2 separate regions of the Homo sapiens genome follow, and region 1 is linked to region 2. The links are contacts of gene promoters, found by promoter capture Hi-C in human tissues and cell types (Jung and others, 2019). All regions are on one chromosome and are shown on one strand. The core of a region is centred on a gene start or on the middle of the fragment in contact, and the rest is flanking DNA. Distances in the headings are between cores, read along the strand shown.

Region 1 (6,087 bases), core at 1,570-4,069, 47 kb before region 2:
ATTATCCCTATTTTATATATAAAAGCACCGAGGCACAGAGAGGTTAGTGATATATGGCAATCATGGAGCAGGGATTTGAACCCAGGGAGTCCGGCTCTGAAGTCTGTTCTCTGAACTTTTCCTTGTATAGGTTCTCTGTAAATTCTGCATTATGTTTTTCCCCCAGCAGAAAATATTATTTGTATAAAATATATATTTGTGGAGACAGTGGGTGCTGTCGCACTGGCCACAAATTGGGGACCATGTGCCATGTCCCAGGTCCAGACAGACAGAGTTCATTTCCCTCTCCTCTCTCAGACTCCAGGGGCCTGAAGCCCCTGCAGGAGGACACCCCACAGCTGATGCGCACACGCAGTGATGTTGGGGTGCGTCGCCGTGGCAATGTGAGGACGCCTAGTGACCAGCGGCGAATCAGACGCCACCGCTTCTCCATCAACGGCCATTTCTACAACCATAAGGTAAGGTGGACAGGGGGACGGGGAGGGTGGAAGACCTCTTCCTGGGTAGATGCCACCTCAGGGCTACAGCCATATGGTGGGTGGTGTGGATGCCTGGGAAGCCAAGTGTTTGCTGCTGTTTAGTCTTTGGGTTGTGGGTGGGCTGCAAGCCCTGCTGGCTTCCTGAGGGCTGAGGGACCCCAGGTCAGAAGCCTCAAAGTCCCCCTGTGGGTTCCCCTTAAGGTGGTGGGTGAATTCAGTGGGGCTGTACAAAGCAGTCCCTGCTGTAGCCTTGAAGACCCCATAAACGCAGCTCATCAGTCTCTCCCAAGAAAATCCACGTGTTACCCTCTTCCTGCACACTGTGCCCCCAGCTGGTGTATGGTCTGGCTTTTCCCAGAGCTGAAGCAGAGCTGCAGGTCTCAGACCTGGGGTGTCAGTGCACCACCCACCCCACCCCATCTTGCTGATCCCTCCTTTCCTCCTGCTTTGTTCAAATCCTACCCCCGGAGGCAATACATGGTGGGAGAGTGGTCAGAGACAGCCTTGTGCTGAAGTCCCAGAGGAAGGGTCTTTTTGAGCGTGGAGCATGAACTGAATTATGCAAACCCCGAGGGTTGCTTTGTCTACAAAGCCTGCTGCTTGCCAGTCTGCCGGGGGCTCCCAGGGAGTACATTCTGAGTATCGTTGTCACTGTGCCCTGTACCGCACCTGGATTTTAGCACTGGGTCCTTGTTCCCACTCCCACCCTGAGCTGGGCCCTTCTATTGACAGACATCCGTGTTCACACCAGCCTATGGCTCTGTCACCAACGTCCGCATCAACAGCACCATGACCACCCCACAGGTCCTGAAGCTGCTGCTCAACAAATTTAAGGCAAGTTCCCTTTGCTGAGTGGCCACAGATGGGGTCACAGCTGTGCCTTGGGACTCCTAGAGTGGTTGTGCGAGGAGCTATGGAAATTGTGTGTTTTGTGGGATGCTGAGCAGAGGGCTTCGGTTCTTTAGATCCTCACGATCCAGGACAAAGTCCACAGAATCAGCATCAGCATCACCTGGGTGCTTGTTAGAAATTCAGATTCTCAGGCCCCACCCCAGACCCACTAAATCAGAAATTGTGAGGGGTAGGCCAGGGACGCCGTCTAACAAGCCTGCAGGGGATTTGGATGCCTACCGAAGTTTGAGAAACATCAGCCCTCAAATCCTTTATGGGCTACTTTAGAAGGACCCTGGGGCCTGCTGACTGGTTTTGGGCTCAGTGCGAAGATTGACTTCTGGGACACAGTTGGGAAACCTACTTTGAAATATGATACTTAAATAGACGTGCAAATTATAGTGCAGGAGTGCTTTTAAAGTTCTGTTGCTCTGTGTTTTCCACAATCTCTTGGAGACCAGAGATCTTTTGGAGACCAGGTGTTCTTATTTTTAATGGAAGCCAGTGTAGCCTAACAACCTAAGAACACAGGCTCTGGGTTCAAATCTCCACTGAGCACCTGCTAGTTGGATGAATTGGGCAGGTTACTTAACCTGCCCCTGCCTCTGCTTCGTCATCATAAAATGAGGATAATGGGACTTCACTATGGTATCGTCGTGAGCATTAGATGGGTTGAAGCCTTTAACATTTGTAGAACTATGCCTGGCACATTGCAATAGACGATAGCTGTTATCTATCCTAGTCGTGTGCTACAGAATGACCAATTTGGTCAATGATGCACCACATATACGACAGTGGTCCCGTAAGATTATAATCCATTTTTTATGGTACCTTTTCTGTGTTTAGATATGTTTAGATACACAAATGCTTACCATTGTGTTACAAGTGCTTACGGCATTGAGTACAGTAACATGCTGTATAGGTTTGTACACTAGGAGCAATAGGCTATATACCATATGGCCTAGGTGTGAAGTAGGCTATGCCATCCAGGTTTCTGTAAGCACACTCTATGATGTTTGCACAACAATGAAATTGCCTAGTGACACATTTCTCAGAATGCATCCTCGTGGTTAAGTGCATGACTGTATTATTGATAAAGTCATCTGCCTTCTCGATCTTCTCATCACTTCTGAGAGTTGTAGATAAATAGCTCTCCCCTCAAAACAGCCTAAAATTGACTTAGCTTTGCATTGCTAAAGAAGAGGAAAAGCCTCGAAGTTGGGATGTTTAAATAGAAACTTTCAACAAGAATCTTTTGCTCCTGCTTCAGATTGAGAATTCAGCAGAGGAGTTTGCCTTGTACGTGGTCCATACGAGTGGTGGTAAGTCTGAAGACCACAGTGTACTTTAAAACTTCTAATTAACTCAAAATAGCAAGTTAAAAAAATACCTCTGCCTCCTTTGCTTGTTGTTTGAGTTTTGGAAACTTCCAAATGTTGTTTGCCTTCAAGGCTGATGGGCTTGCTGTATGAGTCTACTAGGGATTGCCTTATATGGCCAGTAAACAAATTCTAAACCTAACTGCCTATTAAAAGAGGAACTAGATTTTCTTAAGAGACAGATAAACCCAATTCCTCCAAGGAGTTTGAGGCATGGTGGTATTGTTGAGGGGTGAGGAGTGGGAGGAAGTTGCTTTTCACAACACCTATGGAATAGTTCACTTATAAATCAGTCTCCTGACGTATATGGCGGCATCTCCTAAGGTGCCTTTGGACCCCTGCATTAACCACTACTTAATGTGAGAAAGGCCTCTCAGGGCTGCTCCTGGGTGTGTGTGGTTGCAGAGAAACAGAAGCTGAAGGCCACCGATTACCCGCTGATTGCCCGAATCCTCCAGGGCCCATGTGAGCAGATCTCCAAAGTGTTCCTAATGGAGAAGGACCAGGTGGAGGAAGTCACCTACGACGTGAGTTCCCTTTGGGTCAGGCGATCTGTCCTCAGGAGGGTGGGGATTTGGTTGGACCACCTGTAACTGGGGTATAGAATGACTTTTTTGACCAACGACCATGCCCCCTTTTACTTCTTCAGCACCAGGTTCTCTCGAAGCCAGCTTTTGCAGAGTAACAAACATCTCCAAATCATAGTAGCTGACAACAGCAAACATTTGCTTTTTTGCCCATGATTCTGTGGTCTAGTAGCAATGGCTCTACTCTAAGTATGGGTTGAGTTCAAGTCTGCACTGTGTGACTCACCCAGAGGCCCAGGCTTTTGGGGCAGTAGTTACTGCACATGGGTGTGGTCCTCATGGCAGATGGCGGAGCATGAGAAACCAGGCCAAATCATGTAAGCATATTTGAAGCCTCCACTCAGATTTGGTGTGTCATGTCCACACACATTCCACTGGCCAAAGCCAGTCACATGGACAAGCTCAGCATTAATAGGGTAGAGAAATGTACTTATCCCAGGGAGAAGAGTTGATAGAGCAGGGTGGGGATTCTTGTGGGGAAAGGGAAGCCATTTTTTAACTTTTTTTTTTTTTTTGGGATGGAGTCTCGCTCTGTTGCCCAGGCTGGAGTGCAGTGGCACCTCCCTGGTTCAAGCTATTTTCCTGCCTCAGACCCCTGCGTAGCTGGGACCACAGGTGTGCACCACCATGCCTGGCTAATTTTTGTATTTTTAGTAGAGACGGGGTTTCACCATGTTGGCCAGCTGGTCTTGAACTCTTGACCTCAAGTGATCCGCCCGCCTCAGCCTCCCAAAGTGCCGGGATTACAGGCATGAACCACGATGCCTGGCACCGTTTTTAAACTTTAACTCACCCCATAGCCACCCACAGCCTCTCCAAAGCGAGTTCATATTTGGATGCTTGTTTGAGCCTTGAGACCCAAATCGTCATCTGGAACCCTGATTCCTTCCATTCTCTTAGGGGAGAACAAAGGGGTTTATTAAACATAATGGGTTCAGTTCTTTCTCTGCATCACTGTGTCAAAAGAAAGTACTTTTCTGTGTTTGGCTTCACCTCATCATGAATTGAATGCATGACATGAAAAATGAGAAGTTATGAGATGGTGTCACGTAAGCGAAGCGATCATCGCAGACTCCTTCCCACCCTGGTGAGGAATGAGGCTTGGCTGCTGCCTTTAAGGAAATCCTGGGTTTCTGAAAAAAATAGACTTCCCAAGGCTTTGTGCCTTGTATAAGGACAACCCTGAAAGGAATTGGAATAATGCTGGGAAGGGCATTCACCCAGACTTGCTTCTTTCTCTCTAGGTGGCCCAGTATATAAAGTTCGAGATGCCGGTACTTAAAAGCTTCATTCAGAAGCTCCAGGAGGAAGAAGATCGGGAAGTAAAGAAGCTGATGCGCAAGTAAGTGTGGCTTCTGGGGCACTGGGTGCACTTCTCCTGGGGCCTCAACAGAGGGGCCTCTGCTGGGTCCTCGCAGGGACTGTGCTGAGCTGCTGCATGGGCCTGAGTCTCGGCTTTCTTTGGAGGGCTGCCCATTGACAAACCTGGATTTCAAGTGAGGACGTGACAGTTAAGTGTGTTCATCTACTTCTTGTGTCAGCTTCTCGTTTTGATGTGGGACATCAAAGTGTCTCTTGTCCTCCCTCTTATGGAAAGACTCTGAAAAGAAGGTGTTGGTTTAAAATTTCTTTGGGGTCTAGATGCAGAAATAGGGAAGGTGACTGTACGCTGGTTTCTTAAGTATACGATCAGGCTCCCAGCAGGAGACAGATGCTCACTCCGATGAGGGTCTTTGACGGGTGTTTGAAGAAGGGACTATTTGCGAAGACTTGGGCAGAGTCTGGGGTAACCTCAAGGGATAGTGCAGTCCCTGGGGCTAGTGTTACCACCCCTTGCCTGAAGGGGTGAAGGCAAGGAGTGCTAACCAAGACCCGGAGGTTCCAGGGATTTCAGGAAGGCTGTCTTAGCCGTGGATGTAGCCTGAGCTACTGGCCTCCAAAATCCTCTCCTCTCCCCCTTCCTCCCTTTGTAACATTTATCTTCTGGAAATTGCATTTGGATTGAAAAATAAAGCGGCTTTCTGGGAAGGATTTTGTGATTTCTTTGCTATGTTTAGTCATAGAAGAGACTGCCTTTCATAGATATGGTGGAATTAATGATTCATTTTTGCCACTGGAGAATAAAGCCGCTGCTGGATTTGCTGTATCGATGATCATAACTAGTCTGATAACACACTGAACACTTACTATGTCCTAAAGTTTTTGTTGTTGTTGTTGTTGTTTTGTTTTGTTTTGACACAGAGTCTTGCTCTGTTGCTCAGGCTGGAGTGCAGAGATGCGATCTCGGCTCACTGCAACTTCTACCTCCCAGACTCAAGTGATTCTCCCGTCTCAGCCTCCCCAGTAGCTGGGATTACAGGCATGCGCCACCATATCTAGCTATTTTTTTCTTTCTTTCTTTTTTTTTTTTTTTTTTTGTATTTTTAGTAGAGACGGGGTTTTGCCATGTTGGCCAGGCTGGTCTTGAACTCCTGACCTCAAGTGATCCACCCTCCTCGGCCTCTCAGAGTGCTGGGATTGCAGGCGTGAGCCACCATGCCCAGCCAACTATGTCCTAAACTTTAAAAATAGCTTTTTCTGTGCAGCACAAATCCCTGAACATAAGGAATATGTCCATTGATCCCTGCACAACAGTGCCCACTCCTGCAGCTGCAGTGCCACGGCTCAGGGAAGTCGTGGGAAAACAGAACTCCCCCCAAGCCACGGACCTCCACGCCTAGTAGCTGCTATGGCCTCTTCTGCAAAATGCAG
Region 2 (6,377 bases), core at 3,544-6,043:
GAATAGATACTGCCCAGTTGTTTTCCAAAGTGAGCTGTGCCAATCCCACCAATAGTGCATGGGAGCTGTAGTTGTGCTACATCCTCATCAATGTTGGTGTCAGTCATCCTGGTACATAGTAGCATCTGGGTATAGTTTTAATTTGCATTTAACTGATGATGAGTGAGATTAGGCACCTTCTTATGTGCTTATTGGCATTTAGATAGCCACCCGTTACTTTTGAGTCATAGTTTCCTTTACAATGGGGCAAAGGGATCACGCCTTTCTTTTTCTCTTAGTTTCCTTAAAAATTCACCCTTGTCAATTTATACTTAATTACACAAGTATTGTATGGATACATTTTCATTGTTTCTTCACACCCTTGCTAACATTGGATATCACCAGACCTTTAAAGTGAGAAGAGAAATCAGTCTTACTGGTATTTTAATGGAATGTGCATTTCTCCAATTATTAGTGAGATTAAGTATTTTTTCTTATGTTTTTTGGACACTTGTATTTCTTCCATGTATTGCCTTTTCACATCCTTTGCCAATTTTTAAAATCAGGTTATTTCTCTTCCTCATTGATTCTGGAAGTTTTTTATACAGTCTATATAGGAATCTGTTATCTGTTATATATTGTAAATACTTTCTTTTCTTCTGTTGATTGTATTTTTATGTATTTATTTATTTTTTTCACATAGGGTCTCACTTTTTGGCTCAGGCTGGAGTGCAGTGCATTAAACAATAAGCTCTAATTCCTCCCCCTCCCAGCCCCTTGTAACTTCTATTCTATTTACTGTCTTTAAGAATTTGCCTATTCGAGCTACCTCATATAAATGGAATCATACAATATTTGTCCTTTTGTGGATATTAATCTTTTCATTTATTTATAGATTCTTTGTTTTTGTTTTTGAGACAGGGTCTTGCTCTGTTACCCAGGCTGGAGTGCAGTGGTACGATCATGGCTCACTGCAGCCTTGGCCTCCTGGACCCCAGCAATCCTCCCACCTCAGCCTCCTGAGTAGTTGGGACCACAGATATACACCACAATACCTGATTAATTTTTAAAATTTTTTGTAGAGACAGGGTCTCCCCCCATTGCCCAGGCTGGCCTAAAACTCCTTGGGCTCAAGTGGTCCTCCCACAGTGTTGGGATTACAGGCCTGAGTCACTGCACCTGGCCTTGATTGTATTTTTAAAAGACTTTTTTTTGTTTAGAACTGTTTCAAACTTACAGAAAAATTGAGAAGATAGTACAGGGTGTTCCCATATACCCATGGCCAATGTTCCCTTTGTTAACATCTTGCACGAGTAGGGCACATTTGTTAGAAGGAATGAACCAGCACTGATACATGATCATCGTGTCTCCTTGGGCTCCTCTAGCTGTGACAGTTTCTTAGACTTTCCTTGTTTTTGGTGACCTTGATAGTTTTGAGAAGTACCGCTCAGATATTTTCCCAAATGCCTATTTATTAAATTTGTCTAATGTTTTTCTCTTGACTTGACTGGGGTTATGAGTTTTTGAGAGGAAGTCCACAGAAGTAAAGTGCTGCTTTCCTCACATCACATCAGAAGTACATATGATCAACATGATTGATCACCACTGATGTTGACCTTCATCACCTGGCTGAGGTCGTATGTGTCAGGGTCCTCCACTCTAAGGTTACTCTTCTCCCCCATTCCATACTGTCCTCTTAGGAAGGAAGTCACTATGCTTACTCCACATTTAATGAGTCAGGAGTTATGCCTCACCCCCTTGAGGCAGAGTATCTGCATAAATTATTTGAAATTTATCAGTCCAAGGGACTTGTCTCTCCTCCCCCATTTATTAATTTATTCAATCATTTATTTGCAATAGTGAGGACTCAGGGGTATTTATTTTATACTTTGAATGATAATCCAGCACTGCTTTATTTTGTTGCTCAAATTGTTCCAGCTTTGGCCGTTGGGAGCACTCTCAGTTGGCTCCTGTGTTTCTTTGATGTAGCTCCATTAATATGCATTTGTTTTTTGATTGTTTTTGAGTGCCTCCTTATTTTCTGGCACTACAAAATACTCCAGGCTCCTCTTGCATATTTCTGTCAGAGGCATAGAATTGGCCATTTCTCCAAGGAGCCCTGGTACCTTTCACTGGAGAGTGTTATTAGAAACCAAGGTCTGGGTGCTAGGTATGCTTTTTGCTACTGGGGTGCTGTTTCTTTTAGTCCTTCTCAGATGACAGAGCAAGGAAATATTCATGTGTATACTAACCTGTGAATATCACATATCTATACATATTTCTATATGGAATCTTCTGCCCCTGTATTAAGCTAGACATGAGTTCATACTGATGCCTCCAACTCCGCTCTGTTACCAAGTGGATCATTCTAGCCTCCTCCCCTGGCTTATCTGTAAACTTGCATTCCAACAGTGAGCAACCTGGCTTCTACCATCCGCCATTTGTTTAATTAATTTTCGATTTCAGTATGCACGTATCAGAATTGTTAATGCATATCCCCATGAGAACAAACTTTATTAAATAGAGTAAGGTACAAAACTCATATGAGAGAAGAGGCCTTGGTGACTGACCATAGATGGGGTTATCTTAGCCTGCTTGTGTTGTTATAAAAGAATACTTAAGGCTTGGTAATGTATAAAGAAAATAGGTTTACTTGGTTCATGGTTCTGCAGACTGTACAAAAAGCATAGGACCAATACCTGCTTCTGATGAGGGCCTCCGGCTGCTTCTACTCATGGTGGAAGGGAAAGGTGAACCACTGTGGGCAGATCACATGGGGAGAGAGGAGGCAAGAGGAGGGAGGAGGAGGTTCTACACTCTTCAACAACTAGCTCTTGAGGGAACTAAGAGTGAGAACTCACTCCCATGAGGATGGCAGCAAGCCATTCATGAGAGATATACTCCCATGACCCAAACCTCCCAGTGGGCCCTACCTCTGACATTGGGGATGAAATTTCAACATGATATTGTCTTTGGAGGGGAGGCCAAATATCCAAACCATAGCAATGAATCTTATTTGCAGCTGGCCTGTGTTGGTTCAGTGCTTAACTCCAGTGGTATTTGGGAGTCTGGTAAAGACCCTCAGCCAAAATATTAATTGATTGTTCTTGCTGGTGATTTATAAGATGCTGTTTAAAGTCCAGAACTCCCTGGGAGGCATGCTTCAGCAGTATGTCTATATTATTTCTTAAACATATGTAGATTGATGATTTGCATTTGGTTTACATGTTTACCCAGCCTGATTTAAGCTACGTAATGAGTGGGGTATACAAAATCCCTCTGTAAGCTGTGCCTTAGCTTCCCAAGACCAAGGGATTACACACATATCAAGAAGAAAGTGCTCTTTCTCATGATATAGAAATATTTCTTCATGTTACTGATAATGCAATAAAGTGTATATGCTTCTGAGTGATTTGCTAATGTGTATGTCAGCAACACATTCAGTATCCAGAATGGCTTGAAGTTATGCCTTCAGGGCCAAAAATAACATAATGTTAAATTCTGTAGATTCAATAACAGAATTTATTAAGAAATCTGCACTGTGAGGTAAATGATTAAACACTGACTCTTTCTCAACATTAGATAATTCTTTTTATTCATCAGAGAAATGTGATTTATGACACATTTAAAAGCATGTTTAAGGCCGGGCATGGTGGTGTATACCTGTAGTCTCAATTACGTGGGAGGCTAGGGTGGGAGGATTGCTTGAGCCTAGTAGTTCTAGGCTTCAGTGCGCCATGATCACACCTGTGAATAGCCACTGCACTCCAGCCTGGGCAACATAGCAAGATCCCATCTCTAAAAAGAAATTTTGTTTTAAAGCATGTTTAAAACATACATACACCAGCCTGGCCAACATAGTGAAACCCTGCCTCTACCAAAAATACAAAAATTAGCTGGGCGTGGTGGCACGTGCCTGTAATCTCAGCTACTCGGGAGGCTCAGGCAGGAGAATTCCTTGAACCCGGGAGACAGAGGTTGTGGTGAGCTGAAATTGTGCCACTGTGCTCCAGCCTGAGCAACAGAGGGAGACTCTGTCTCAAAAAACAAACAAACAAACAACAAAAAAACCATACATAGAAATGTTCCAGTAGAATACAAAGAACCACTTTCTAGAACTGAATGCACCAGAGAGGATTAGAAACCCACTTATTCTCTCCCAGCTTCAAGTATTTAACGTTCCTACTTTTGCACGTGGCAGCCTTGCTGACTCAGATCCGAGGGCGTTGAAAGACAGATTCACAATTTCTGGTCCATATTTGATGCAAATATTTAGAACTATCTAGCAGAGCTTGCTGCCTTTCCAACAATCCAGTTAGTGAATTGAGAATGTTCTCATTTAATAGAAATGAAAGGTAAACGAAGGATCCACCTGGCCATGGGACTGGAGGAATGACCCAAGCCATGCTTCATAGAGGCACAGATAGACACCCTCAGGGAAGCCGAGACCCTTTGAAAAAAGGGCCTGGTGTGTGTATTTTCACACTGCCCCCTGCTGGCTGACACTGGAACATTGATTCTTCCTGCTGACACTGGAACATTGATTCTCCTGTGGCTCTAAGACGACCTAACAGGATGAGGCCAGCGGGCCCCCCGCAAGGAAACTTGAGCTAGAGGCAGTTGGATTTGGCTGAGACGCTCTCCTCAGGGAAGGCCAGGTCTGGGAGTGGGTTTGAACAGCAGTGGAGAAATAACTTCCATAGGGCATGTCAGAGTAAGTTCTAGTGTTTCCAAGAGAATGGGACAGGATCTTAGTGGAATTTAGAAGCCAGGCAGGTGGAAAAGCATTGAGGACCCCATCCCAAGGGCTCGAGTCCCTAGAGACAGCCTGGAAAGATTGGGTGCCAGCTGCAGAGAGGAGAGCAAGGCGACCAAACGCAGGGTAAGGTCTGGAGGTGCTCATAGTTCACTACGGGACATGTACATGGAAGTGAATAATTATGTCACAAGGTGCCAAGGGGGCTAGTTACCTCACATAGGATCTTAGAAAAGGTCTCCTGGAGACCATGTCTGAGCTGGTCCTGAGGTGTGAGTAGGGATTCTCCGCAGGGCGGGGAAGGACTTGAAAGAGTCTGGCAATATGGAGCACATCAGGATTATGGAAGGTGAGCTTGGAGAACAAGGCAGAGTCTAGCCTGTGAAAGGCCTCTTGCAATTTGTTGAGGATCCATGACCTTCTCCCATGCATGGTGAAATGCCCTTAAAGGATTTTGAATAGATTTAAAAGACACTCAAAAACAAAAAACGGTAGATTCAAAATAGACGGTAGGGATCGCTTTCTTCCGTTTTCTTTGAAGGATCAGAAGTGTTTACCACCACCTGGATTGTTTTTGGGCTTTCAGGTGAGTGGGAAAACAAAGAAATTCATGCCTGATCATGTTGAGCCACTTATATAATGTTGCTTTGACACTAATGGAGATGTAACTTCTTTTAAGACATAATAGAATCTCCTAAGTGGGTGTGGGAGTCGTAAGAAGGAGGAATCTGGGCTTCTACAAGCAAGATAGCATGTATTCATTTATTCAGTCAGTCAGTCGCTGGATCGATGCGCTTAGCTTTGTGCTCTGTGCTGGGTGCTGTGTGGGATATAAAAGAAGGTGAGGCCGGGTGCGGTGGCTCATGCCTGTAATCCCAGCACTTTGGGAGGCCAAGGCAGGTAAATCATGAGGTCAGGAGATCGAGACCGTCCTGGCCAACATGGTGAAACCCTGTCTCTACTAAAAATACAAAAATTAGCTGGGCGTGGTGGTGTGTGCCTGTAATTCAGCTGCCTGGGAGGCTGAGGCAGGAGAATAGCTTGAACCAGGGAGTCGGAGGTTGCAGTGAGCAGAGATTGCACCACCGCACTCCAGCCTGGCAACAGACGAGACTCCGTCTCAAAAAAAAAAAAAAAAAAAAGAAGCTGAAATTCCAGCTCTTATCCCCCAAGGAATCTGTACATCTGTACTCTGCTTGGGAATCCACAGAAGAAGGAAAGAATGCCAGCAAAGTAAGATCATGCTGCATGACCTCAAGATAGATGTTAAGGACATTTTGATGGGATAAAGGGAATCTTTGCTAGTTCAGAGATGAGCTTTACTGGCTTTGAGCTAAGTGATAGACATAAGTGGGTGGAGTGCAACTGGGGAGAATTTCAGGCCTGGGTAAGGGCCAAGTGTGAATGGATGGTCTCATGTAGGAAGCCATCAGGATAGGCATAGCAAATCCAGGAGTCCTCTAACGATGGAAGGAAGACCTTTGCTGATGTAGGAATCGCATTGCAGGTCAGTACTCCTCAGTGAACCTGGAGACCCTGTTGCTTCCTGTTCCCTACCTCAAGGCACTCAGTCTTACAACTTTGGGCTACCTCTCTGAGACAGTAGACTCTGGAGATACTAGCCATATCTTCATCTTTAACA

Evidence for each region. The method cuts DNA at HindIII sites, captures the fragments that hold promoters and counts their contacts. A contact is called where the count stands out against the background at its distance.
Region 1: a contact is called between a fragment that was not itself captured here and the fragment with the promoter of PRNT in region 2, in 1 of the 25 tissues and cell types used here (IMR-90 fibroblasts).

What each region holds. Positions count from the first base shown.
Region 1 is chr20:4,784,822-4,790,908 of GRCh38, reverse strand. RASSF2 (Ras association domain family member 2) reads left to right here. Exons shown (of 12, transcript NM_014737.3): 7 at 298-458; 8 at 1,212-1,313; 9 at 2,641-2,692; 10 at 3,155-3,276; 11 at 4,581-4,678. Among named protein-coding and RNA genes, the nearest start is that of RASSF2, 36 kb to the left of the region's middle. The HindIII fragment of the contact is 6,947 bases long and covers 1-6,087 here.
Region 2 is chr20:4,739,084-4,745,460 of GRCh38, reverse strand. It overlaps PRNT (prion locus lncRNA, testis expressed), which reads left to right and starts at 4,793. Exons shown (of 2, transcript NR_024269.1): 1 at 4,793-4,861. The HindIII fragment of the contact is 12,758 bases long and covers 1-6,377 here.